Linked DNA regions of Homo sapiens: region 2 is linked to region 1. Evidence: promoter capture Hi-C in human tissues and cell types (Jung and others, 2019). All regions are on one chromosome and are shown on one strand. Each heading gives the region's core, a stretch centred on a gene start or on the middle of the fragment in contact. The rest is flanking DNA. Distances are from core to core; before and after follow the strand shown.

Region 1 (7,685 bases), core at 1,723-4,222:
TCAGTTCCCTGTACCCCACACTACCTTGGGTGGTCCCAAGGACAGGGGCTGTGAGTCTAGGGTCTTCCTCACTGCTATTTCCCAGCACCTGGCACAGGCTCAGTCAGTGGGTTACCTAGCAGATATTGTTATGTGAATGAATGCCTGAATGGTTGACAAATTAACAAGCAGGTGACCCTCTGAATAGCCAGAGGTGTACACCCTGGCCCCTAGACATCTGATTTTGGCCACACAACATCCGATTTTTCCAAACTTGGTCTCTGGATGCCTAAGGGATGCTGAGTCTTACCTAGGGCAATTGTGATCGGAAAAGGAACCAGTGGATGTCAAGGCAGCTTCATATTCACCATCAAATACTCAACAGGAATCAAGACCCTCAGGGAGGCAGGCTCCCTGGCTCTCATTAATGGCCATAAGAAGTGGCATCTGTTTCCCTGCTTGCTTGCAGGCAGGGCTCACACCATCCCCAGATGCAGTAACGTGCATCAGGACTCTGAAGGCCACGCAGAACACTTGATGGGAACAGCAGGGGTGGGGCAGGGGCCACACCACCAGCCTTGGGAAGGGGACAGCCAGATACAAATACCACCAAACAAGGGTGCACGGATGGATGCAACTGGGGACAAGGAACCCAGAAACAACAGCACCCTGTGGGCCAGGCTCTGCTGACCCAGATAATAAACCCAGGGGCAGCAGCCACACCTCCCGGCCGGGGATGGACATCCTAGCTGCAAACACACACTACAGGGTGATCCCAGGGACTGGGATTTCTGGTGAGGCCAGGGATGGGAGGAATCTGCAAGACATGGAAATGAGCTTTGGCCAATTTCCTCTGGACACTCCGCCTCACAGCTAACTTTGGCATTCGTCTCTTAGTTTCGCTCTCAAGACTGGATGTTCTTTAAAGGAAACAACCACATCTTACTGGTCTCTGAGAGCCTTCCCTTCACCCATGGGACTAGGTACTGAGTTAGTTCAATAAAGCTCGGCAGGAGAAAAGACAAAGAGCAAGCCAAGAGAATGAAAATGGCAGAGGGGGAAGGAACAGCCCAAGGGCGCAGAGAGCAAATGAGCTTCGCAGAGGAGGAGGAAATGAGCAGGGATGGGGGAAACTAAAGCCAGGGCTTGCAGGTGACAAGACAAGTCCGCTGAATGTGGGATCCTGGGGGTGAGTGGAAGGTGAGCCCCAGCCTGGCTGCTTGTCAGGTGGTGAGATGGCTCAGAGAGGAGGCTGGACCACACGACCAGGAAGACCCTGCTTTCCCCGTGTGGGCAGGAGAGTCCTAGAAAGGGAAGTCAGGGAGAACAAACTTGGGGTGGGGGCACCGGACTGCCCTGAAATAACAAATTCCAAACAGCAGGTTCTCTGCTGAAGAGGCAGGGAGTCTAGAACCCCAAGTAGGCAATTAGCAAGGACACAAACATAGCAATTACAGCAAGGAAGAGAAGGTGAATCTGCCTCACAGCAGGGCACAGGCACAGCCAGGGGAAGGGCCCAAGCCTTCAGGTCCACTGGAAGCTTTCCTCCTTGCTGAGGGTGAAAAGTGGAGAAAATAGCAGAGCCCAGCCCCAGGTCCTGTCTGTGGTGCAGGCAGCCTCCAAAGCCCCAGCGTCTGATTTTCTGCAAGCTCCCTAGGTCGGGATGCTGCTTGGACAAAAGGAATTGATCTGAGACAGCACCAAAATCAGGCCTGACTTAGGGAGCAACGGCGGAGACTATGGAGCCCAGGGGCACCCGGAAGGAGGGGAGAAAGTGAGGGTTGGCAGGGCAGGGAGGCCATCATTTGCAGAGGAGCAAAACTCTCTGCCACACAGCCCCTGCCTCTCAGCGCCGCCCTGACCTGGTATGCCCTGGCCTTCCAGGAAACCTGGGGGTCTGCCTTGGACAGAGAGGGTAGAGACCTGGCTGCTGGTCCCGCCCGGGCACTACCACCTAGGTGGGTCCGTCAATGAAGTGACTAGCGACCCATCCCCAACTCCATACAGGAACATGTAATCTTTTTGAGATCTTTCAATAGGTCTTTCATTGTTCTTTCTGCCAAAGAAGAGCTTCCTGTTTCGGTACTTCGCAAAAGGCTCAAGACATGTGTGTTCCCACATCCCTTCCCATACAGCCGCCTTCCCAAAGGGCTCCATCCCCTCTCGAGAAGCCCAGGCAAGCCCAACTCTGGAGTTCTTAGCTCCAGCCCGTATGGCAGCCAAAGCCCTGGCCTCCCAGTTGTCCTCTGCGAGGTCCCAAAGCGCCTTTTGACGGGGAAGGAGAGAGACGAAAGAAACTTTCTGCAGAGGCCAAGGATGGCTGAGACTCCAAACCCTCCTGAAATTTCACTTCCTCCCAAATAACCCCACTCCAAGCCCCTGGTTTCTTCCAGATGTTCACTAACAGCGCGAGAGTCATGGAGGGGCCGAGACGGAGCCCCTTTTTTCAACTCAGGGAAAGAAAGGACCGAGGGCGCAGGAAGGCCCAGGGGCTTCCCGCCTCCCCCTGGCGGGGCGCAGCCGGTCCGGTACCAAAGGTCCGGCCAGCCCCGCCCGCCCGCGGCCCGGCACCCGCTGAACAGGAAATTCCACCTGTGCGCCCAGAGCTCGGCCACCGACGGACACGCCAGGGGAGCCGGCCGAGCCCAGCGCCGCGCTGCAGGGTCGGGCGGGCAGGAGCTTCCCAGCGCCCCGGGTCCCCGGCCCGCGCTCACCTCGTGCCGGGAGTTGTACTTGAGTCCCGCGCCGAAGTCCTTCGGGCCCCCTCCGCCCTTGCGGGCCCGATCGCTCCCCATGGTCCCCGAGGCCGCTCGCGGGTCTCACAGGCGTCGTCCCTGCCGGCGGCCGGCTCCCATGGCCCGCAGGGCGCGGGGCGCGGGGCGCAGGCGGCGGGATTCCGGGCAGGCCCAGCGCGCCCGACCGGCGGCGGTGCCCTCGCCCTGGCGCGCTCTCTCTCCCTCTTCCTCTTTCTCCGGCTGCAGCTCCGCTCTCACACTCCGGCCCGGCCCACGCAGGTAGTTTCAGGGTGTGGCCTCGGCCCGCCCAGCCCGCCGCGCTCGCCTGCGCACCTGCCCGGCTCACCTGCCCGCCCCCGCCGGCCCTGGGGGAGGCTCCTCCCCTCGGCTCTGGGCCTGAAGGTGAGGGGGCCTCACTCGGGTGGTGGTCGCTAAGGCCCTCACCATCACCACGACGGCGTTCACCACCCCTCCGGCCCTCCAGGGGCCCTGCCCCGGGAGGGCAGCCCTTTATCCACCTCCTTGATGCCAACCATCTTTTCCCTCCTCCCTCATGCGCCTCCGGTCTCTCCCCTTCACCTTGCTCACTTTGCTACAGGACTAAATCGCATTTATGAACCCCCCAAAACCAAACAGAAACCAGAACCGCCCCTGGCCCAGGCTCCCCGTCGGCTACGCAGCCTCCTGTTCTCCAGGCGGGAGGCGCTTGCTGGCCTGCGCCCGGCTACCCTGGGGAGGCCCAGTGACATGAGCTGTGCCACCAGATGCCCTCTGAGCCATCCCAACGCCCCTCGCCCACTTGCAGCATCTGATGCTTCCTCAAATGCCCCCTTTCCCTGGATTCCGGTCCTCCTTTCTAGTCCTAAATGTCATGATTCCCAAAGTTCTCCCTTCAGTTTCATCCCTTTCTTCTCTAAGCTTTTTCTCTTGGCAGCACGTCTCATCTTACGACTTCAGACAGGAAGACCTCCCTCCCAGCACAGACACCACCAAGGAGTGCCAGTTCTGCCTTAGCGGTCGCCTGGGGACGTCTCCATTTATGTTCTACTGTATTCTGTAGCCAATGAACATTACCAAGCACACACTAGGCGCTAAGCACTGTCCTGGGTACAGGGAAACAGGAGTGAACAAAATAAAAATCCCTGCTTTGAGATCAACAAGCCCCATCTTCCTTCCCTGACTTGCCCATTTTCCACTGTTTTCTCTAATTCTAATGGCAGCATTCTCCCAGGCTCAAATCCTGGAATCATCTTTGATTCTCCACCCTGCTTACATCTCATATCCAATTAGTTCCAAATCTGATCAAGACTCTGCTGACAAGCATAGCCCTTCCATTCCTGCGCATTAGAAGACCGCTATTCGAGTCCTCAGAGCCCTTTGCCTGGTTAAGAAAGATCTCCTGCCTCTGGGCTGCCACCCTCTGATCTCTCCTACACAAAGCAGTCAGGTAAATCTGAAACCACAGCTCCTTTATGACTTTCCGTGTCTCCCGGATCAAATCCAACCTCCTTAGCCCAGCTTCACACTCTGCCCTGTCCTCCCTTAACACCGTGCCTCCAAGCATTCCTGTTTGGAGCCCCTCTCTCCAGCCAGGCGTTCTGATCTTGGCAGCTTTCATAAAGCTTTTCATCCCCTGGAAGCTCTTCTCCTTCATACTCCTTCCGCATATTGGGTCGAAGACACCGATGGGGTTTTTTAGTGTTGTTCATTGAATGTTTTTAGCTCTCTGCCTTCTGGGCACAGGCCAGGGTGTTACTCTCTCTTCTCTGAAGTTAGGTATGGCAGTATGGCTAGCGGTAACCAAGAAAATGTCCAATGAGAGGACACACCACTTGTACATAGCAGCATAAGGAGGCACTGCACAATGCCCTGCTCTCTTCTGAGAGGTTTAACTCTGTGACCTGTGACCCTAAGTGGCTACAATGACACACACTGGATATGTAGCATGAATGAGGAGTCAGTCAGCTTTTGGGATGTTAAGCCACCGAGAGCTGAGGGTTGTTTGTTATTGCTGCAAACCTCACGCTTCCTGACTGATATGCTACCTCCTCCCCAGGAGTTTCCTTCCCTCTCAACCAGAACTAGCTCTGTTTGTACCTCTCTCATGGAGCTCACCACCATTTCGTTGCATTTTCTGTCTGTGTCTTAACTGCCTTTGCACCCTCAAAGCCTAGCACAATGACTAACACAATATATTGGGTCAATTTAATTGAAAGAAGAATGAATCTGCTGCCTTCCATCACATAAAGCATTCCAAAGCTAAACAGAAAATATTTCTAAAAGGCTGGCACGTTGGCTTCCAGCACTTTGGGAGGCTGAGGTGGGTGGATCACCTGAGGTCAGGAGTTTGAAATCAGCCTAGCCAACATATAGTGAAACACCATCTCTACTAAAAATACAAAAATTAGCTGGACATGGTGGTGCATGCCTGTGGTCCCAGCTACTTGGGAAGCTGAGGCAGGAGAATTGCTTGAACCTGGGAAGTGGAGGTTGCAGTGAGCCGGGATCATGCCACTACACTCCAGCCTGGAGCGAGACTCCATCTCTCAAAAAAAAAAAAAAAAAAAGAAAAGAAAAAAAAGAAAAAGAAAATATATAAAAATAAATTTTCCTTTGGATTACCAATGGCACAGCATTCTTCAACTAGTGTGAGTGATGGAAAGTAAGCCAAATTCAATGTGACGTAAATGAGATGGTACTCCTGACACACAGACCTTCTGTGCTGCTGCAAACGCAGTGACTCACGTTGTCTCCCCACTTCCTAGGGCCTCATCTTTTATCTCGTAGAGCTGGGCGCTCAGCGTGATTTGGATGCCGTATGAATGCAATGCATTGACTGCTAGTGCAGATGAAGAGAAAGCGATGCAGGACAAGACCCTTCCCCTAGGATGGCTGCATGGGGATACCTTGCTGCATGCACCCTATGTGCACTCCTGGGTTGGAGGAGGCAGTGTAACCATATGTTATTCCATGAATCCCATTTGGTTTAATCCTCAAAAAATTATGAAATGTCAGTGCTTTTGTTCCTAAATGGTAAGTGAAGGAACCCAAGAGCAGACAGCCTCCAGAACAGGACCAGATTCTCACACTCACAAGGAACAAATCCAACTCAAGCCCAGATTTTGGCTTGAGGTCCGTGTCATTTCTCTGCTATAGAAAGAGTGACTCATGACCAAATGACCCAACCTTCACCACCCACTGTGCCTTCTCCACCACCCCCTCACTGGCCCTTCCCCGGCCCCAGCACTGCAAAGCTGTCATCGCTCCTCTCCAGGGAGCCATCCTCTTCCTGGTTCCAGGACTGCCTGCTGGGAAAGTTACATCTGTGTCCCTGGGACCCCCTCAAGGGCATGTCCAACAAGCCCCTATGTCCTTGTGGCCGGGACCACTTAGAAGGTGTGCAAATGTGGACCTGCCCACAGGCTAAAGGACACTGGCTGAAGCTGGTGACAATGTGGGAGACAGTAGGGCCATGTGAGGTAGGCCCAGCCCAAGTGTGAAACAGCCAGTGCTCTGGTACCATCCAAGGCGGGGAGACCAGAGCAGCTTGTGCCAGGCCTGCAGGCGACTCATGCTCCTTCAATAAAGAAGAAAAGTGCAAACAGCAAAGAGGTGTGGTAGAGGTTGAGAATGAACAGAATAAAGTCAAATGAACCGGTTATGGAGCTGGCATCCATAAATGTACCTAAACCTTCTGAAACAACAAGGTTTATATGAATTCGACACCTAGAACCACTTCTGCTTTTGTCTTGGCACAGCCCTCATGCTTCCCTGTCAAACATGCTTCATGGGGAAAATGCACTTTCTAAACGCCAGGTGTTTAGTATCCTTGAGGTAATGCTGCTTTTTCCTGCACGGTCCTTCCCACCCCATCCCCGATGACTTGGCCCCTTCCCCTTAGTGAGATCCAAATTCAGCTAAAGTTTCAAAGTGAATATGATTAACTTTCCCCAGAATTTAATAACTAATCTCTTCCGTCACTTAGGACTTATGGTATAGTGTATTTTGATCTTCCTGATACACATAAGAGCACTGAAAATGCTGTTTGGAGACAGTGAGCGAGGACAGTCTGTGGAGCTGATCAGTGTCCGTCAAGTAAGCTGTCTGCTACTGGGTCTCTTCACCGAGTTTAGAAACAAAAGCATACCATAATTTCTTTTTTTTATTTTATTTTCTTTTCTTTCTTTTTTTTTTTTTTTTTGAGACAGAGTTTTGCTCTTGTCACCCAGGCTAGAGTGTAATGGCACAATCTCGGATCTCGGCTCACTGCAACCTCCACCCAGGTTCAAGTGATTCTCCTGCCTCAGCCTTCCAAGTAGCTGGGATCACAGGTGCGTGCCACCACTCCCAGATAATTTTTGTATTTTTAGTAGAGATGGGGTTTCTCCATGTTGGCCAGGCTGGTCTTGAACTCCTGACCTCAGGTGATCCACCCGCCTTGGCCTCCCAAAGTGCTGGGATTACAGGTATGACCCACCACGCCCGGCCAGCATATCATAATTTCATGAGGATTAAACCAAATGGGTCTGATGTGATAGTTGATGGCTACGCTTCCTCCTGGCTCCTGCACTTCCATGAGCTGGTGCGGCACAGCGGTCCTAGGGGGAAGGGCTTGGCCTCTGCGTGGCTTCCTCTTCATCTGAATTTGCAGCTGATGCATTGCATATGGATAGCATTCAAATGCCAGCACTGAGCACTTCTGTGGGCAAGATGCTCATTCAGCTCTGAGATGAAAGACGACGCTCTAGCAGGCCAGGCTCTGTGGCAGGCACCTGTGGTTCCAGCTGCTCGGGAGGCTGAGGCAGGAAGATCTCTGAGCCCTGGAGTTCGAGGCCTCAGTGAGCTGTGATCACACCTGTGAATAGCCACTGTATTCCAGCCTGGGCAACATAAGTGAGACCCCATCTCTAAACAAAAGATGATGTTCTAGGAATATAGGGGAGAAGATGACCCCTCCTTTTGCAGCAGCAG
Region 2 (7,685 bases), core at 2,743-5,242, 340 kb after region 1:
GACGAACATAATCCTGGAGTATCAATTTCACCTAAAGATTCTGGAAAAATGATTTTCATTTTAAAACAGATACAGACATATTGTGGGGTAGCATATATTTTTTAGTATTAAGAGAGACTGCACTTATGCCAGGCTGTTCTCAGACAAGTCTCCAGGTCCCTGGGAGTTTAGACTCTATTGTTAGTGCTGACGATTGAGAAACAGTAATCTATAGATCACTGTTTTGCACTGTAGTTTAGTTACTGTTCTAGAGCCTCCCATAGAGAAATAAACAGCCCCAGTGAGACCGAAGCAGGAGCTATCTCAGTAATGGCCAGAAGAGAGGGACTTTCATTGTGGGTCTGAGTTAGGTTTGAAAAGATGTCTGTGTGATTGACAGGTAGGTATTCTGAAATGAGCACAACAATGAGCTTTGTATAATGTATAAAATATGCCAGATTGTAGATCAATGTAGGGGAGGAGGCAGAAAAATGACCATTAGAACAGATCAAAGAGAAGCTCTGGATCAAAGTGCAGGCCGATCAAAGACACTGGAAGGAAGGGAAGGGCACTACAGTCAAGGGATGGAACATGAGGAAAAAAATAATCCAAACTGAACTGTGGCTCAGGAGGGACTCGATGCAGGGTGGTTGGTGATAACCTAAGAAATAATTAGATATTTAGTAGGGTGATATGGGGAGTTTTCAATCCAGGAAATTCTACTTAGAGTCCTAGTAGTTAGAGATCTTTCAAGTTTGTTTTCTTATAGCTATTCCATACCATCAGATTTGAGAATGAGGTAGCATCATCCAAGAGGTGGTGACATAAAAAGATTTAACAGAAACAGAGGAAATAGCAAGGGGACAGGTAGGAAGGGCTAGTTTAAAACAGATAATAGGGTCAATTTAAGTCAACTAACATTTATCAAGTACCTGTTATGCATAAGGCACTGTTCTGGGAGATGGAGTTGCAGGGGTGACAAGCCTGGGCCTGTGCTGTCAGGGAGTTTGCAGTCTTTGTTGAAGTCGCCTAAGAAGGAAAAGCTAACAGCAAAAAATCAGGGTCTAATGGGCAGGCTTTCCAAGTGAGAGGCCTTAAGAAGCTAAAGCAGGAACGATTCCTATCAAACGTAGTATCTGTTCCCTTCACGTGATCTAAAACTTTCCCAGGAAAAAAATAAAAAACATGAATCTGCTCCAAGTTTTGATGATCACTGTGGGGCTGCAGAAGGGAAAAATTGCATGGATTTGGAGGGTGACCTTCAAGGACAGAAATTCTGTCCCAAATTCTAGAGATATTAGAAAAATATTTTCCCAGGCTGGGTGTGGTGGCTCATGCCTGTAATCCCAGCACTTTGGGAGGCCGAGGTGGGTGGATCACAAGGTCAGGGGTTCGAGACCAGCCTGACCAACATGGTGAAACCCTGTCTCTACTAAAAATACAAAAATTAGCTGGGCATGGTGGTGGGCGCCTGTAATCCCAGCTACTCAGGAGGCTGAGGTAGGAGAATGGCTTGAACTCGGGAGGCGGAGCTTGCAGTGAGCTGAGATCGCGCCACTGCACTCCAGCCTGGGCCACAGAGTGAGACTCTGTCTCAAAAAAAAAAAAAAAAAGAAAAATGTTTTCCCAATATAATCCATATTTTGCAAATGGTTATCAAAAAGTAAATTAGTTGTACATGTAGTCAAAGAGTTTTCATTCCCTAGTATCTCAGAGCTTTTTCAATAGAAAATAAAACATGGAGAACATCAGCAACTTCAAAGTGCAGGCGGAGTCAAGGACACATTTCCCATTTTGAATCCTAGACCTCCACCTGTCCACCTTACAACAAGAACCTCCGCTATTAAGCAGATGACATAATAAATACATCTAAGTTATTATGTGACTTTTCTCAAACAGGAATAAATGGCTAGAAATGAGATCTTTCTACAGAGAAACCCATTATATGTACTAGAAAGCACTAGAGACAGATGATGATAAGCCATCAAAAAGGCCTTCTCTGCTTAACCACCCTGCAATGAAGCCAGCCAACCTACAAGCCATGCTCACAGATGACGCACACCATCCCCAAACATGTATAAAGCTTCCAACGTGAAAGGCAGGCCAAAAGCAACATTAAACGTCACTTTAAAAATAGACACAGACATTGTAGGTAGCTGAAGAAAACTTCTAAAATGTAGAAAAAGTACTGAGTTAATATGCTTGGAGAAAGAAGAGAAGATGCTGCGTTCATGAAATGAGAACAGGATACTGTAAAAACCATTCAGAAGACCACACCTCTCGCCAATAAAAGCTCCTGAGAATTAAAAATATAATGGTAGAATGTAAACATTTAATAGCATTGTTGGAAGATTTATTAGAACTAAAAAAACATGGGATATTTTTTAAAATAAAAAAGATAAAATTACAAGACAGATCCAAGAGATCCCATTTTCAGATTCAGTCTAAGTAATTTAAGTTTCAGAAAGAAAGAACGAGGAAATTATATAACAGAAGAAAACCACTCAGAACTGAAGAATGTACTTTTTGGATTGAAAAGGCCTAGAAAATACTTAGGACAGTGACGGATACCTCCCTGTATTCCCCCCACCCCGCCAAAAAACCCACCCCAACATTAAATAACAACATCATGAAATATCAGAATATGAACAATAAAGAAAACCCTACAAATGCCCAGAGATTAGAACAAAATACAAGGGATCAGGAATTAGAATGGCATCAGCCTCTCAACAGCACCGTAAGAAAGTAGAATAAAATAGAGCAATGTTTTCAAAATTCGTACGGGAAATGATTTCTGATTAATATCCCATACCCAGCCAAACCAGCAAGCAAGTGTGAAGGAAGAAAAGTGACATCTCAAATGGGCACAAGCTCAAAAAGCAACCGCATCTTATGGGGCCTGAATCTTATACACTTTTGGGAGCCTTCTTTAAGAAAAAGGCGTAAAATTACAAAAACTGTACATAATTGGGTATGAAAGTACATATGTATTCCACAAGAGATGGCCTAGACAGAAAAAAAAAGTGTGTGTGTATTTAGAATGAGAAAATAAATCACAACAGACAGGGACCGTGGAGGTTCTAGACTCTGTCTTTTCAGATGTGCTTGGAAAATTTACCCCAAATGCTTCTTGATGGCGGCCTGGCGTTTCCTCCCCACTCAACAGCTCCATGCAATTAGCAGCACTCAGAGGGCCCCCATGAGTTTCCTTGGCTCCAGGAAATGACTTCTTGGTGATGAGTTCTCAAACAACTAAAGAAAATGTAGCAACTCCTACACCCCATTCCAGGGGGTTGGGGGAAAGACTGGTCAAGAAGGGAAATGTAAAGATCATGGTGTATCATGTGCCTTAGTTGGGAATAATATATACACCAAACATTGACATATCAAAAATTTAGGATATAACCGTACTGGGAACTTAAAAGAAAGGGATGTGAAGGTGAGAGGGAGGGTGGGGGTGTAAAGGAGCGAAACCCTCATCCTTCTTGGTAGGATGTCAATAGATGTCATCCAGAACTGGAAAAGAGAAGAAGAAATGGCCCGTATCTGCATGCTATTTAGAATATGGTAATATCAGAAAAACACAACCCAAAGCATTGAAAGTAATTGCCGCTAGGGTTCTATACTCAGTATAAACTCAATGAAAACCTTCTACAATGAACGACTTCTAAGACTATACATTGATTTATGTTGACCAAAGCAGATAATTAAAAAATAAAGTATACCCTCAAGAGGAGTGAGGCAAAAAGCTAACAGAAATAAAATAAAGTCGCTTTTGCTAAACTACCTGACATTCGGTGTTTCTCAAAATGTATTCCCGCAACCACCTGCCCTCAGATGACCTGGCGTGCCCGTCCATAATGGAGAATTATAGACCCAGCCCAGACCTACATAATCAGCAGTTCTCAGAGTGGTCCTTGCACTCTACCATTTAAAAAAGTTCCCCTGGACCCACTGCATTACCCATTGCTTTTTAGTAAAACAAACAAAAAACCAAAACAAATAACAACCTATTTAGAGACAGGATCTATGACTCATAAAACACACTATGGCAGATGCTGCTAGCTGCCTACCCAATGTTCATTCTCCCCCCGCCTTATTAACAAAATTCCTATTTTGTTGTTATTATTATTTTTTTGAGATGGAGTTTCGCTCTTGTTGTCCAGGCTGGAGTGCAAGTGGCATGATCTCGGCTCACTGCAACCTCTGCCTCCTGGGTTCAAGCGATTCTCCTGCCTCAGCCTCCTGAGTAGCTGGGACTATAGGCGCCTGCTAGCACGCCCGGCTGATTTTTTGTGTTTTTAGTAGAGATGGGGTTTCACCATGTTGGCCAGGCTGGTCTTGAACTCCTGACCTCAGGTGATCCACCCGCCTTGACCTCCCAAAATGCTGGAATTACAGGCGTGAGCCACTGTGTCTGGCCCAAAATTCTTATTTTGATGTATTGGCAACGTGTCTGTCTCAAACACTAGATTCTCTCTGGTTCCGTCACCGTTAACAGTGTGTATGTGATATGGTTCTGGCCAATGACATGTAAGAAGTCTTTTGGGGTGGGCTACCAGAAAAGCTGTTATTATTATTATTTATTATAAAGAAGGACAGGCCAGGCGTGGTGGCTCACATCTGTAATCCCAGCACTTTGGGAGGCCGAGGGGGGCAGATCACAGGGTCAGGAGTTCAAGACCAGCCTGACCAACATGGTGAAACCCCGTCTCTACTAAAAATACAAAAATTAGCTGGGCGTGGTGGTGCACGTCTGTAATCCCAGCTACTTGGAGGCTGAGGCAGGAGAATCACTTGAACCCAGGAAGCGGAGGTTGCAGTGAGCCGAGATTGTGCCACTGAGAGAGACTCTGAGTCAAAAGAAAGAAAGAGATGAGACAGAGAGAGAGAGAGAGAAAAGAAAAGAAGAGAGAAAAGAAAAGAAAAGAAAAGACAAGACAAGACTCTTCTGGAGCATGCCTCTGCCCGTCTTTCTGCTGCAACTTGCGGAAGTGAGTATGAAAGCTCCATGCTAAGGAGGGTGGTGCGGGAAGACACAAGGAGCCTGTCTCAGATGACGTTCATATCGGAACCCCTTTCCCAGCCCCAGCCTTCTCACCTCCAGACTTCTCGTTCTCTGAGAAAAACAAACTCCTTACTTGTTTAAGCCGCTGTAGTAGGGTTTTCTGTTCTTGTAGCTGAATGAACGTCTAATGACATCTCACACTTTTTCAGATGTTTATCTGACATACCACATTTTATGTATGCCTGCTATGGGCACTGTGCTAGGAATAAGACAAGTAAAGCTCTCTTTGTCATGGAACCAGGAGCACAGTTAGAACAGAAGTTAGAACTTTAGCCACTATAATAACGGCTACAGTTATAATAACAGTTAGAACAGAAGGTCCATAGGCATTTGAGGCTGGGATTCAAGGAGGTTATGTTTGCTGTCACAGACCTCAAACCAAAAGAGTACATCAAAATAAGTCACTGGATTTATACATTTGGCAAATTCTCAAGGGACCACATGACAGAAGGAGCAAAAATCTGAACATTGTTTTTAGCTGTAATTCTCCAATGAAGTAGATTTGGGGAAGCAACATGAGGTACTTGCTTTATTTTTCTTAAATCCGGTTTTCTTCCTTGAAAAACCACAAGATTGGACTTGACAATCTTTAAGGTTATACTCAGCTCTAAGATATTTTTGTAATTATATGGAACAAAGATGGGCATGAAATATACCAAACGAGAGAGTTTCTAAATTTAGATTCTGATAATTCAAGTCAGAAAACATATTAAGTGTTCGGGAAAAACAAATCACAATCTTCCATCACAAAATTCAACAAGAACAACAAAAACCACTCCAGAGGCAGCTGTGGTATTCTGGAAGGAATGTTGGTTTGAGTTCTGGCTCTGCCATTTAATTACTGGCTAACCCTGGACCACATACACAATATCTCTGTTTCCATCTCCTCATTTTTGAAATACGGATTCTAATCTGACCTGAACAGTGCTGTTTACAAACATCGCCTTGTGCTCTATAAAGCCCCATTATGATTTCAACAACCAGCAAGATAATGGCTTATGATATCTAAGTCCTGGCAAGGAGAATGCGGGTGTGTACCTTGCTATATTCAGTTGAACTCTGCATCACATACAGAAGGCTGATAGACCTTTTAGCTTTCCTTTTTCCTCCAGTAGTGTAGCTTGTGGCCATTTAAGTTTTACACAAGAGAATAGAAAAGAGAGATAAAATTTGCTAAAATTCAAATAGTCTATTTGTGTTTGTTTCTAGCCTCAGTGAAGGTTTTGGGGAGAGGGGTAGCTGGTTAAAAGAGTAGAAGCTTAAGAGTTCAAAGAAAGTGTGAGGAGGACAGCACTCACCTGTGGCCTCTAATTGTTCATATTCAGTATGGTCTCATACTGGGAATAATCTAGTGTTTGTCTTATGATCTTTCTATAGAAACAAATATGGAATGTGTCTATAAGTACCATTAGTTGATGACACACTAGTGACTTTAATTCTCTTACAGTAAAAAGTTTTGCAATAGCAAGGACTTTGGCTAGGGGAGTGACTCTATGTGTGGTGAAACTGTCCTCACCCATTTTTCATTTGAGGAAAAGAGATAATCTTTTGATTACACCCAACACAGGTAACATCTGTACTTTGAACAGTTAAGTATAGCAGCTGATGTTTAACTGCAGGTAGGGGGGAGATGAGAAACAGAAATAACTGGTGCCAAATGTGAGATTCAATTACCTCGACCATCACAACCAACATCAACCAGAAGGGTGTGGGAGGAACTCATGGAATAAATGGGAACAGGTGTGGCCTGAGGATAAGTAAGTGGGGGCACTGTTTCCATCTTCATGAAGATGTGAGAGGAAATCAAAGCTCTTTAAAAAGAAGGAAATGGAATGCTTGGCTCCTGTAATATCAGAACAAATAATGCACAGCCAGAGGTCATGCCTCACCTTCTGCTTATCTCAGTCACCTCCACTTGTAAAATCAGTGGGCCATATTCAATAAAACCTTCATATCAGTTCCATATCTTTTCCCAGAAACCCCAGGAACAGAGGGAGCCAATATCCTTATTAAACCAAGAAGCTCACTGTCACAAAGAGCTAAGTCTGACGCCCCTGGGCCCCTACCTAACCACGTGTCCTGATTCTTTCCATAACTTCCCACTGCACAACATCCAGGTTATACTGAAGATATTACACATCTGGTTAAAAACAGTACACGTCTCTCATGAACAATAAGCCATCCTTTCTATTAAAATGAGTGTAAAATTGCAGGTAAAATGCTGTAGGCAGGCCTGTTTGGAAGGCTATGCGACCCTAGGAGACAAAAAGGTGCAGGAGGAGGAAAAGGGCAGACACCGCAGAAAGCGGTCGAAGAGAACGTGAAAGAAGTGGCCATTTCTAGCTGGGCGCGGTGGTTCACGCCTGTAATCCCAGCACTTTGGGAGGCTGAGGCGGGTGGATCATGAGGTCAGGAGATCGAGACCATCCTGGCTAACACGGTGAAACCCCGTCTCTACCAAAAAAAAAAAAAATACAAAAAATTAGCCGGGCGTGGTGGCGGGCGCCAGTAGTCCTAGCTACTCGGGAGGCTGAGGCAGGAGAATGGTGTGAACCCGGGAGGTGGAGCTTGCAGTGATCCGAGATTGCGCCACTGCACTCCAGCCTGGGCGACAGAGCGAGACTCCGTCTCAAAAAAA

What was found. Contacts are between HindIII fragments. The study calls those that stand out against the background at their distance.
Region 2: a contact is called between a fragment that was not itself captured here and the fragment with the promoter of ST14 in region 1, in 2 of the 25 tissues and cell types used here (spleen and thymus).

Annotation. Positions count from the first base shown.
Region 1 is chr11:130,155,069-130,162,753 of GRCh38, reverse strand. It overlaps ST14 (ST14 transmembrane serine protease matriptase), which reads right to left and starts at 2,972. Exons shown (of 19, transcript NM_021978.4): 1 at 2,694-2,972. The coding sequence starts at 2,774. RefSeq lists an enhancer at 1,237-1,736 and silencers at 2,824-2,893, 2,974-3,093. The HindIII fragment of the contact is 3,998 bases long and covers 1-3,984 here.
Region 2 is chr11:129,816,749-129,824,433 of GRCh38, reverse strand. The region is part of intron 1 of TMEM45B (transmembrane protein 45B); the gene reads right to left. Among named protein-coding and RNA genes, the nearest start is that of TMEM45B, 4.7 kb to the right of the region's middle. The HindIII fragment of the contact is 6,152 bases long and covers 917-7,068 here.